Linked DNA regions of Homo sapiens: region 2 is linked to region 1. Evidence: promoter capture Hi-C in human tissues and cell types (Jung and others, 2019). All regions are on one chromosome and are shown on one strand. The core of a region is centred on a gene start or on the middle of the fragment in contact, and the rest is flanking DNA. Distances in the headings are between cores, read along the strand shown. Region 1 holds the start of NHP2 (NHP2 ribonucleoprotein). Region 2 holds the start of DOK3 (docking protein 3).

The links. Contacts are between HindIII fragments. The study calls those that stand out against the background at their distance.
Region 2: the fragment with the promoter of DOK3 here is called in contact with the fragment with the promoter of NHP2 in region 1 in 1 of the 25 tissues and cell types used here (lymphoblastoid cells).

Annotation. Positions count from the first base shown.
Region 1 is chr5:178,151,366-178,157,365 of GRCh38, reverse strand. It overlaps NHP2 (NHP2 ribonucleoprotein), which reads left to right and starts at 3,481. Exons shown (of 4, transcript NM_017838.4): 1 at 3,481-3,708; 2 at 3,806-3,875. The coding sequence starts at 3,549. RefSeq lists an enhancer at 5,913-6,000. The HindIII fragment of the contact is 35,391 bases long and covers 1-6,000 here.
Region 2 is chr5:177,505,735-177,511,734 of GRCh38, reverse strand. DOK3 (docking protein 3) reads left to right here and starts at 1,909. Exons shown (of 6, transcript NM_001308236.3): 1 at 1,909-1,977; 2 at 2,078-2,260; 3 at 3,193-3,498. The coding sequence starts at 2,195. DDX41 (DEAD-box helicase 41) reads left to right here. Exons shown (of 17, transcript NM_016222.4): 17 at 1-158. RefSeq lists enhancers at 1,504-1,653, 3,474-3,523, 3,544-3,653 and a silencer at 1,784-1,923. The HindIII fragment of the contact is 13,536 bases long and covers 1-6,000 here.

The sequences.
Region 1 (6,000 bases), core at 2,232-4,731:
GAACAGATTTCTGAGTCTGGCTTTAGAAATACACAATGTGTTGGCTGGGCGCAGTGGCTCACACCTGTAATCCCAGCACTTTGGGAGGCCCAGGCAGGCAGATCACAAGGTCAGAGATCGAGACCATCCTGAATAACACAGTGAAACCCCGTCTCTACTCAAAATACAAAAATTAGCTGGGCGTGGCCGGGCGCAGTGGCTCACACCTGTAATCCCAGCACTTTGGGAGGCCGAGGCGGGTGGATCATGAGGTCATGAGTTCAAGACCAGCTTGGCCAAGATGGTGAAACCCCGTCTCTACTAAAACTACAAAAATTAGCTGGGTGCAGTGGCAGGCGTCTGTAATCCCAGCTACTCGGGAGGCTGAGGCAGGAGAATCGCTTGAACCCGGGTGGTGGAGGTTGTGGTGAGCCAAGATCGTGCCACTGCACTCCAGCCTGGGCGACAGAGTGAGACTCTGTCTCAAACAAACAAACAAACCAACAAAAATTAGCTAGGTGTAGTGGCAGGCACCAGTAGTCCCAGCTACTCGGGAGGCTGAGGCAGGAGAATGGCGTGATTCCAGGAGGCAGAGCTTGCAGTGAGCCAAGATGGGGCCACTATACTCCAGCCTGGGTGACAGAGCGAGACTCCGTCTCAAAAAAAAAAAAAGATAAGAAATACACAGTGTGTTAACAACAAAAAAAGAAAACAGGCCAGGTGCGGTGGCTTACATCTGTAATCCCAACACTTTGGGAGGCCAAGGCGAGTGGATCACTTGAGGTCAGGAGTTCGAGGCCAGCCTGGCCAACATGGTAAAACCCTATCTCTCCTAAAAGTACAAAAATTAGCTGGGCATGGTGGCGGGTGCCTGTAATCCCAGCTACTTGGGAGGCTGAGGCAGTAGGATCACTTGAATCTGGGAGGCAGATATTGCAGTGAGCTGAGATCATGCCACAGCCTGGGTGACAAAGGGAGACTCTGTCTTAAAAAAAAAAGGGGGCCGGGCGCGGTGGCTCATGCCTGTAATCCCAGCACTTTGGGAGGCCGAGGCGGGCAGAACATGAGGTCAGGAGATCGAGACCATCCTGGCTAACACGGTGAAACCCTAGTGAAACCCCGTCTCTACTAAAAATACAAAAAATTAGCCGGATGTGGTGGTGGGCACCTGTAGTCCCAGCTACTTGGCAGGCTGAGGCAGGAGAATGGCGTGAACCTGGGAGGCGGAGCTTGCAGTGAGCCGAGATGGTGCCACTGCACTCCAGCCTGGGCCAAAGTGCGAGACTCCATCTCAAAAAAAAAAAAAAGAAAAAAAAAGAAAAAGAAAACACTGTGGTTTTCTGAAGACATATTTGTTCTCAGCACTTCATTGTCTTATGGCTCAAAATGCAGACACGTGTGACCTGGGCCAAGCTGAGGTTCCTACACTTTCACTATTTACGTATCCTTTTGAGCTGAAGTCAAATGTCAAATCACAGGTATGGGTAAAGTCTGGGCTTGGAGACAAGTGGACCTGGGTTCAAATCCAGCTTTGTGTGAGCTGTACCAAACTATTCATCTTTATGTGTGTCAGTAAATTGTGAATATAAAGTTATATATTCCTGGTAAAAGGATGGTAAAGTCTTTACCTTTACCATAGAGGTATTTTTTGGTGAGCACTGAATGAGATATTGTATATAATATGCTCGCCACATAAATGTTAACTTTCTTTTTCCTTCCATGTAAGAGCTGAAGGGACTTCACAACCGAGGCTCTGAGTGAGGTCAGTCAAGCGAGCCCATTTGTTTGAATTTGTTTGAACTGGGTTCTCAGGAGTGAAATTCTCCATCACTCTGCTGGACAGAGTGATTTTTAGTAGAGACGGGGGTTTCACCGTGTTAGCCAGGATGGTCTCGATCTCCTGACCTCATGATCTGCCCGCCTCGGCCTCCCAAAGTGCTGGGATTACAGGCACCGCGCCCAGCCTATTTGTTTTTATTTAATGCAAAACAAAATTTATTGCACTTTAGTTCAGAGTTACAAGGTTTTTGTTGTTGTTGTTTTGTTTTAGAGACAAGATTTTCCTGGGTGGCCCAGACTGGAGTGCAGTGGCTATTCACAGGTGCAGTCATGGCTCACTGAAGCCTCTAACTTCTGGGCTCAAGCGAGCCCCCTCTCAGCCTCCCGGGTAGCTGGAACCACAGGCACGAGTCACCACACCCGGGAAAGGCCAATTTTTAAGTTGGTTTAACTGACCTGTGTTCCCACCCACAACTACCGGAACACTTCTAAGTTTCTACTTACTGGCCTGTTCCAGCAACACAAAAATGGCAGGCCTGCCACATCAGGATCAAAGGTAATTAGTATTACAAATTAGTAATTTGCAGCGATTATCTAATTAATATCCATCCAGAGTTCCAAAATATAGTGGAAGAGGCTAATCAGAGATACCAAGATCCACTGGATCTCGGCCTGCCACCGCCCCCCACGCCCTGGCAGCTCTGTCCCTTTACCTTCTACAGACCCGTCCAAAGGGTAGCTCCTCATAGCTCTCACCCTGCACGGCAGGGAGCTCAGTCCCCAAAGCCTTCCCTCCGCTGTTCCCGGCTTCGCTGGAGCCGTCCTTCCCTCAGCCCCGGCTGGCTTCTCGGCTAGGCCCTCTGCATGTGTAGCGTCAGGCAATGGTAAGAACTGCGGGAAAATAGCGGGTGAAGGGATGCTGGTTTGGAGAGAGAGGGGACGGCAATTTTAGATAAAATCACCAGGGAAACCTCTCCCATGGGAAACACTGAAACGGAACCCTGCGGGATGAGAGTGAGCCACACGCTATCTGTGGAAAAGCGGTGCAGACGCAGGTCAGTGGGGTCATCCCTTGCTCTGTATCTTTCACACCTGCGCAGCCGGGTCCAGGGGTCAGAAAACAAAGAAAAATTATGCAAGAAAGGAGGCAGCCTTAGGCCGGGCGCGGTGGCTCACGCCTGTAATCCCAGCACTTTGGGAGGCCGAGGCGGGCGGATCGCCTGAGGTCAGGAGTTCAAGACCAGCCTGACCAACATGGAGAACCCCTGTCTCTAGTAAAAATACAAAATTATCTGGGCGTGGTGGCGCATGCCTGCAATCCCAGCTACTCGGGAGGCTGAAGTAGGAGAATCGCTTGAACCCGGGAGGCGGAGGTTGCAGTGAGTCGAGATTGCGCCACTGTACCCCAGCCTGGGCAATAAGAGCGAAACTCTGCCTCAAAAAAGAAAAAAAACGAGGCAGCCTTTCCAGCACCCAGAGCCCCGCCCTCTCCGGCCCCGATTCCCAGGGCTCCGCCCCTTGCCTCACATTCCCTCCGCTCCGCCCTAATCGGTTCCGCCCAGTCCCTTGGTCCGGGGATGGCCCCGCCTTAAGGACCATGACTCCGCCCCTCTCCGCTCTCCGTAGTTACGAAGCTGGGCGTCAACGATTGGGCTGAGTCGGAGACTTCCTTTCCTGATTGGCCGTGTTGTACGGCGGCTTCTCGCGCAGCTGATGACCTGGAAGTGATGCCTAAAGCTGTGGACCGCGTGGGCTCGCCTCCCTGGGACTAGGTTTCAGCGGCCGCTGCGATGACCAAAATAAAGGCAGATCCCGACGGGCCCGAGGCTCAGGCGGAGGCGTGTTCCGGGGAGCGCACCTACCAGGAGCTGCTGGTCAACCAGAACCCCATCGCGCAGCCCCTGGCTTCTCGCCGCCTCACGCGGAAGCTCTACAAATGCATCAAGAAAGGTGAGGCGGACGGCGGCGTGGCCGGGATGGGTGCGCGGGTGGGATGGGTGCGCGGGTGGCTGAGCGAGGCCCCCGACCGACTCTTCTGTCGTTGCAGCGGTGAAGCAGAAGCAGATTCGGCGCGGGGTGAAAGAGGTTCAGAAATTTGTCAACAAAGGAGAAAAAGGGTAAGAACCTTCCTTCCTCTGGATTTTGCATTTCTAAACGTTAACGGAGAAATCTCTACTTAGTAGGCGCGCAGTAAAAAGGTTAACTCTGACCTAGCCCCATATACAGAAGCCAATCAAGCAGTCGGTAAAGTCCCTTTGGTACAATACCGGTACGACAATACCGGTACACCACGTATACCAGCTCAAAGTGAATTCCAAAGTGAAGCGAATTGTGTAAGCAAAGTCCCTTAGAGTAAACCCACCTTCATTAATTCAGGGACCCTCCTCCCCGGGCTCCGCTCCTTGCCTCAGATTACCTCCGGCCCCCGCCCTAATCCTCTCAGCCCTGAATCTCAGTCCTAGGGATGACCCCTCTCCGGCTCTGTATTTAAGGAACTGAACGTTAACGTTTTTGTTTGTTTTTGAGATGGGTCTAGCTCTCACCCAGGTTGGAGTGCGGTGGTGCGATCACAGCTCGCTGCAGCCTCGTCCCCCTGGGCTCAAGCGATCCTCCCACCTCAGCCTCCCGAATAGCTGAGACCACCGGCTTGCGCCACGCCTGGCTGTTGTTATTGTTGTTTTGCAGAGACAGAGGAGTCTCGCCATGTTGCCCGGGCTGGTCTTGAACTCCTGGGCTCAAGGAATCCTCCTGCCTCAGCCTCCCGAAGCGTTGGGATTACAGGCATGAGCCACCGCGCCTGGCAGCCTTAACAATTGAATGTACTCTTTTTCAGGCACTGTGTTATGGGGGAAACAGTGACATTCATTCATCAGATAATGACACACACACAACTAATTACACGTTGTGATAGATAGCCATGAAGGAAAATAACAGAGTGCAATGATAACTTCATCACCCCACTTTTCTTAATGGCATTTATCAAAGTTTGAACCTTGTTTACATTTTTCTTCCCTTTATCACCCTCTCAGGCCAGATGGTAAGCTCCTTCAGAACAGGGCCTCCTTGCTTTATCCCAAGAAGTGAAACTGTAGGTGCTCAAGAGATCAATAATGTTGGGCAGACTTGATGCTCAACGGCATCTAACCTAGCTGGGGAGGGCGCATCTGGGGAAGTTTCCCTCAGCAGTCACATTTGAGCTGAGGTCTTAAGACACAGGGATTAATTGGGGGGTGGGTGGGAGGATTCTGCCAGAAGAAAGAGTGGGCCTCTGGGCAGGAGAGGGTCTGGTGAGCAGAAGTGCTACCTTCTTAGGGGGCCTTGTAGGACACAGTAAATTTAGTTTTTATACTCAGCACTTTGGAGGCTATTAGGGGTTAAAGCCAGGAAGTGACATAATTTTTATTATTTTTTACACCCTAAGATTTTTCTGACAATTGAAGAAAGGATTAGAGAGGTACGAGTAGGTTTGGGAAAGTTCAGGTAGTAGACTACTGTAGTCCTGGAGAGGTGATGGTGGAGACAGAGTTAAAGGGGACAGATTTGAAAGGACTTTCAGATGTGGAGAATGGGGAGGTATTGACGACTTCTAGGTTCTGACATGCCCAGCTGGAGGGACAGAGGGCCCAATCTTGAGATGTGAACAGTGGAGGGGGACCAGATTTGTGTAGAAAGATCACAAATTTGGGTCTGGGTAAGTTTTTGAGGTGCTGTAGAGACACATGACTTCCACCCCGCCCCACACCAGGAGAACTGTCAAACAGGCAGATGGCTATAGGGGTTTGGAGCATGGAAGAGAGAGGGCCAGGCTGGAGATAGTACATCTGGGAGTTTTCAGCACATAGATGGCACCTGACCCCATGGCAGTGGCTCCGGTCAGCCAGGAAGAAGGTCCTGAGAGGAGAGGGCAGCCGAGGACAAGGCTGTGAGGAACACTCACAGTGAAAGGCGCTTAACAGAAGGGGAGCCAGCAGAGGGCCCAGAGGAGCACTAGGAGTGCGGAAGCATTCTTTCAGCCGAGGGCTCTGTCCTTGTGTGTCCGCCTGTTATCCAGCATGGGAGAGCAGACTTTTCCTTCTGTGTCTTAGGCTCCTGAGGCCCTTGCCCCCCAGCCTTGACACCTGGCCAGCTAGGAACCCTGGCTGAGTCTCTGGCAAGCTTTCATTGCCTCACTGTCACTCTTGGGACAGAGCCCATGCTTCTTAGCCTGGTACTCAAGGTCTTGGGGGTGTCCCCTGCCAGTCT
Region 2 (6,000 bases), core at 660-3,159, 640 kb after region 1:
TACACATACAGCAGCCCCCTGGACAGAATCAGCATTTCAGCTCAGCTGGCCTGGGATGGGCCAGGCTGGTCCTGGCTGCCTGTTCCCTGTGCTCTTCAGAATTACTGTTTTTGTTTCCTTTTACCCCAGCTGCCATTAAAGCCCAAACCTCTAGCCCAGCCCTGGCCCTGCCTCTGTGTTTCACCTCATCCGCCCCCTGGTTCCTGGACAGACGTCACCTCTGACCTCTGGAGCCCCTCTGAGGCAAGGCCCCAGCATCTCCCACTAGCACTGCCAACACCTGGCCTGCTGGTACTTGGCTGTGGAAGGAGCCACCGAGCTGGTGCCCGCCTCTGGGGACTCTGGGTCTCTCCACTGGGTTGTCTGAATTTATGACTCAAGGAGGGACCACATTGGCGGGCCAAGGAGAAGTGCTTGGATTCTCTGGTCTCCCTGGCCAGCTGTCATAGCTCTCAGGCCCACTCTTCCTGTCAGGGCTGTGATGTTTCAGGGACTTCTCCTGAAGCCCCTTGGGAGGCTGCTTCTTGCCTCAGGACCCCCACCCACTGCCTGCCTGTGCCAGCCACCTGGAGGGAGCCCTCCATTCCGTTGACTGAGGAGGCAGCAGATGTCATAGAACTGCCATTTAGGCCACAAGCTCTCCCTAAGCCTGCTCTGTGCCCAGCTCTGCTGAGCTGTGAGGACCTAGATGGGCCAGGGAGATGGCTGCCTGGGAAGCCGTCAGGCGAGGGGAGAGAAAGACGCACACGCAGAAACGTGGACGGCAGTCACAAGACCGCTAGCAGATGAGGCAGGATCTCAGCATCTGGTGAGAGGTAGGCAGGGACGGCACAGGCGGCCACACTTCCTCTGAGCCAGGCACTTTGCATGTATGGCCACATGCTCATTCCAGTGAGACAGCGGTTGCTCAAGCCATATTTGTCACTTGATATGTGGCATTGGGCAAGTTACTTAATTTTTCTGAGCACCGATTTCCTCACTGTTGAAATGGCGATGAGAACGCAAAGGATGTGGCGTCTGAGGTGGACGGAGCTTAGGGCTGCTTGGGCCACAGTGGGCACAGAGCTGGGTGCCAGGAGGCCTTCAGGACATATTTCCTGGCCAAGTGCATTCCCAAATGGCATTCCTTATCCTCTTCCATGTTCTCTCCCAGAGGTGGTGCTGAATGACCTGAGGCTGTTCCAGAATAAAGGTATACACACAGCCCCGCTATTGGCATCTTGCTAGGCAAGCCAACAAAAGGCGCCCCCAGCAGGAAGCAAAGCTTTAAATGAACATGTGACCTCTCCGGGGCCCCCTGGGACCTGCCACCCACACTCACGTGGTTGGGGCCATTCAGGGCTGTGGGTCCCATGTGGACTGGATGCCCAGCGTGAGTGTATACCGTGAGGGCCTTTGAGCTCTCGGACAGCGTGGAGTGGTCAAGGGAGGCCTCCAGGAGGAAGAGGTGGCCAACCGCCCCAGGCAGCACAGTGGTGAGGGGGCCCTGGAGGGGCTGGCCTGGGGGAGATGCAGGCCAGAACACACAGGTCCCTGAGTGTTGGGCTGAGGAGCCTGGGCTGCACCCCAGGAAGGGGAGAGACAGGTTGGTCTTGGGTTGTGGAGAGTGCTGCATGGAGGCCCAGTGGGGCAGTGGCCCCTGGGGGGATGCCAAAGGCTGGTGATGTTCAGTGGCTCGTGAGGTGGAGAGGAGCAGGTGAACACGAGAGAGATTTCAGGGAGAAAGAAAAGCAGCAAGATGGGGTGAGGCGCTCAAACCAGGACGCCGAGTGGGAAAGCCAGGAGTTGGCTAGAGAAGGGTCCTGGGTGGAGGCAGGGCCAGGGAGTGTCAGGCCCAGGGTGCGCAGCTGCCCGGGGCGGGACGGGGGAGGGGCGGGAACTCATGACTCGGGGAGCCAGACTGCGATCAGACGCGCGTGCCCAGCTGAACCAGGTGCGTGAGAAGGCTGCCTTCAGGTGGCCGGGGGCTCCCTCCAGGTAGGTGTGGGCACCTTGGGCAGCCAGAACCCCAGGGAGGAAATACATGCTGCCCCCAGCCCCTGAGCTGAAGACAGGCTCCCCTCCCCCCGGCCTGCAGCTGTCTCTAGACGGAGGGACGGGAAGTGGCCAGAAGGGGAAGTGTGAGGAGTTCCCGTCCAGCCTGTCATCAGTCTCCCCAGGTCTTGAAGCGGCGGCCCTGCTCCTGGCCGTGACCATGGACCCTCTGGAGACCCCTATCAAGGATGGCATCCTCTACCAGCAGCATGTCAAGTTTGGCAAGGTGGGGACCCCTGGCTGCCAGGCAGCTGCCAAGGACCAACAGTGGGTGGAGAATGCAGCCTCTGCCCCTGCCTCGGACAGCCCAGGCAGACCTGGGAGACTTGGGAAGGGAGTCAGGGTGGAGGATCCCACCCAGGTATGGGGAGTGGAATGGAGTGCGGGTGTCAGCCTGAGACGGCAGGGGCTGAGCAGGCTCTGCCAGACCCTGCCTCCGGGAGAGATGGGAAATACAGGAGTGGGAGAGGGTCGAAGGCTCAAACCTCCCAGCAGGGAAGAGCTTCACAGCCTCTGACCCATGAAATAGTGCCACCGAGGGCCCTAAATAGGGTGAGGGGCTGAGCTGGAGGAGGCCTCAAGGGTGGAGCCCCTCCCTGCAGCGGCACTGTCCTGGGAGCAAGGAGGCAGGGGGTCACCTCTCCTCGGCAGCAGCCCCACACCCCCGCAGCTCAGCTGCAGCTGCTGCCCAGGCAGATAAACCGTCAGTTTCCTTTGCTCGAAGCTATTTGCATGTTTCCTTCCTTAACAGCTTGAGGCAGAGGCCTCCCTCCCACCCCAGCTCTTGGCCTGTGGCCCAAGTGCCCCTTTTTGGGGGTGAGAGGGAACCAATATAATGGCAGTGTCTGGTGGTCTGCCCGGCCACTGGATGCTTTACAAACATGACCCAGTAGCAGTCCCAGCTCGAGTTCTCATGGCCTTTTGAGAGACGACATTGATGCTTGTGGAGGTCACAGTTAGGAAAGAGCGGGCTGGGATTTGAACCCAGGGCTGACCAATCCCAAGCATAGCCAAGGCCTCCTTACCTGGCTCCCTGAGAAACTGGGGAGCAGAGGCCCGCTCCTGGCTGGGAGCGTTTGCCGAGCAGCTTGTGCTGAGCCAAGTGGCACGGACAATCTGCCACCCAAGGGTCTTCACCCTCCCGCTCCCCTCCCGCAGAAGTGCTGGCGGAAGGTGTGGGCTCTGCTGTATGCAGGAGGCCCATCAGGCGTGGCACGGCTGGAGAGCTGGGAGGTCCGGGATGGTGGCCTGGGAGCAGCGGGTGACAGGTCGGCAGGGCCTGGCCGGCGAGGGGAGCGACGGGTCATCCGCCTGGCTGACTGTGTGTCCGTGCTGCCGGCTGACGGCGAGAGCTGCCCCCGGGACACCGGTGCCTTCCTGCTCACCACCACCGAGCGAAGCCATCTACTGGCTGCTCAGCACCGCCAGGCCTGGATGGGCCCCATCTGCCAGCTGGCCTTCCCGGTGAGTGCGGCGAGCAGGGGGGCGATTGGGCTGGGGCACCTGCCCCCGACTTGTCCACCTCCACGCTCACATCCCATCACCCAGCAAGCTCCACCGAGCACCTACAAGCCTGGGAAAAGTAAATCTATAATGACTCTCAGAGGGCCGTGCGTGCCATGGAGAAAATGGACCGCCAGGGGAGCAGGAGGAAGTGAGGGAGCGACGGGCAGGGTGGCCAGGGAAGGCCTCTCAGAGGAGGGCCCTGAATGACAGGAACCCACTGGGCAAAGGTCTGAGGACAGGGGCAGCCTGGGGAGTTGTGAACAGAGGGAGTCCCGTGGGCAGAGGCCCCGAGGCCGGACAGTGTGGGGTGTTTAAGGGCAGAAAGAAGGCGACGTGGCTGGAAGGAAAGGAGTGCAGGAGGAAGCCAACTCACAGAGCTTAGGAGAGCGGCTGAAATGCCCTAGGCCATGTGTGTGGTTTTGTTCTGAGTGAGAGGCGAAGGCTTTGGAGGGTTTAAGCCGGACATGTTTGTAAAGCCCCAAAAGGTCTGTGATGGGTCAAAAGGAAGTGAGCCTGGGGGTTCTTCAAAGAGGTAAACAGAGTTACCATGTGGCCCACAGGTCCACTCCTAGGTGTGTGCCCAAGAGAACTTGAACAGGTGTTCAAACAAAACATGTACATGTGAGGCAGGAGGATCGCATGAGCCCCAGAGGTCGAGGCTGCAGTGAGCTGTAATCGTGCCACTTCACTCCAGCCCGGGAGACAGAGCAAGACCCTATCTTAAAAAAAAACCCACATGGACATGAACGTCCATAGCAGCACTACTCACAGCCACCAGAAGGTGGAAACAGCCTACATGGCCATCAGCTGACAAATGGATAAGCAAAACGTGGTCCGTCCGCAAGATGGAATACTACTCAGCCATAAAAACAAACAAACGCCTGGCACAGTAGCTCTTGCCTGTAATCTTAGCACTTTGGGAGGCTGAGGTAGGAGGATTGCTTGAGCCTAGGAATTCAAGATCAGCCTGGGCAACATAGTGAGACCCTGTCTCAAAAAAAAAAAAGAAAAGAAGAAAGAAAGAAATGTACAGACAAGGTAACTCCATTGGGATAGAAATCAGATGAGTGTTGGCAGGAGCTGGAGGAAGGGAGAAGTGGGGAGTGGCTGCTCATGGGTACAGGGCTTCCATGTGGGATGATGGAAAAGTTCTGGAACTAGACAGTGGCAACAGTGCACAGCCTTGTGAGTATACTAAAAAGCACTGGTGGCCGGGTGCGGTGGCTCAGGCCTATAATCCCAGCACTTTGGGAGGCCGAGGCGGGCGGATCACCTGAGGTCAGAAGTTCGAGACCAGCCTCAACATGGAGAAACCCCGTCTCTACTAAAAATACAGAAGTAGCTGGGCATGGTGGTGCATGCCTGTAATGCCAGCTACTCGGGAGGCTGAGGCAGGCAGAATTGCTTGAACCTGGGAGGCAGAGGTTGCGGTGAGCCGAGATCATGCCATTGCACTCCAGCCTGGGCAACGAGAGCAAAACTCCGTCTCAAAAAAAAAAAAAAAAAAAAGAAAAGAAAAAAAAGAGCACTGATGATACACTTTAAGATGTAAAATGGGCCGGGCGTAGTGGTTCACACCTGTAATCCCAGCACTTTGGGAGGCCGAGGCAGGCGGATTACCTGAGGTCAGGAGTTCGAGACCAGCCTGGCCAACATGGTGAAACCCTATCTCTACTAAAAAAAAATTACAAAAATTAGCTGGGTGTGGTGGCACACGCCTGTAATCCCAGCTACTACTTGAGAGGCTGAGGCAGCAGAATTGCTTGAGTCTGGGAGGCAGAGGTTGCAGTGAGCTTAGATCGCACCACTGCATTCCAGCCTGGCCGACAGAGCAAGACTTTGTCTCAAAAAAAAAAAAAAAAGTAAGATGGTTAAAACAGTAAATTTTATGTTCTCTGTATTTTATCATATTTTAAAAATCAAAAAACAAAAGGCAGTTGAGGTTAGGCATGGAGGTTCGTGCCTGTAATCCCAGCACTTTGGGAAGCCGAAGCACGTGGATCACCTGAGGTCAGGAGTTCGAGACCAGCCTGCCCAATATGGTAAAACCCTGTCTCTACTAAAAATACAAAAAATTAGCCAGGCATGGTGGTGGGCACCTGTAATCCCAGCTACTTGGGAGACTGAGGCAGGAGAATCACTTAAACCCGGGAGGCGGGCTGGGCGCGGTGGCTCATGCCTGTAATCCCAGCACTTTGGGAGGCCGAGACAGGCGGATCATGAGGTCAGGAGATCGAGATCATCCTGGCTAACATGGTGAAACCCCATCTCTACTAAAAATACAAAAAAAATTAGCCAGGCCTGGTGGCGGGCACCTGTAGTCCCAGCTACTTGGGAGGCTGAGGCAGGAGAATGGCGTGAACCTGGGAGGCGGAGCTTGCAGTGAGCCAAGATCGCGCCACTGCACTCCAGCCTGGGCGACAAGAGTGAGACTCCATCTTAAAGAAAAAAAACAAACCC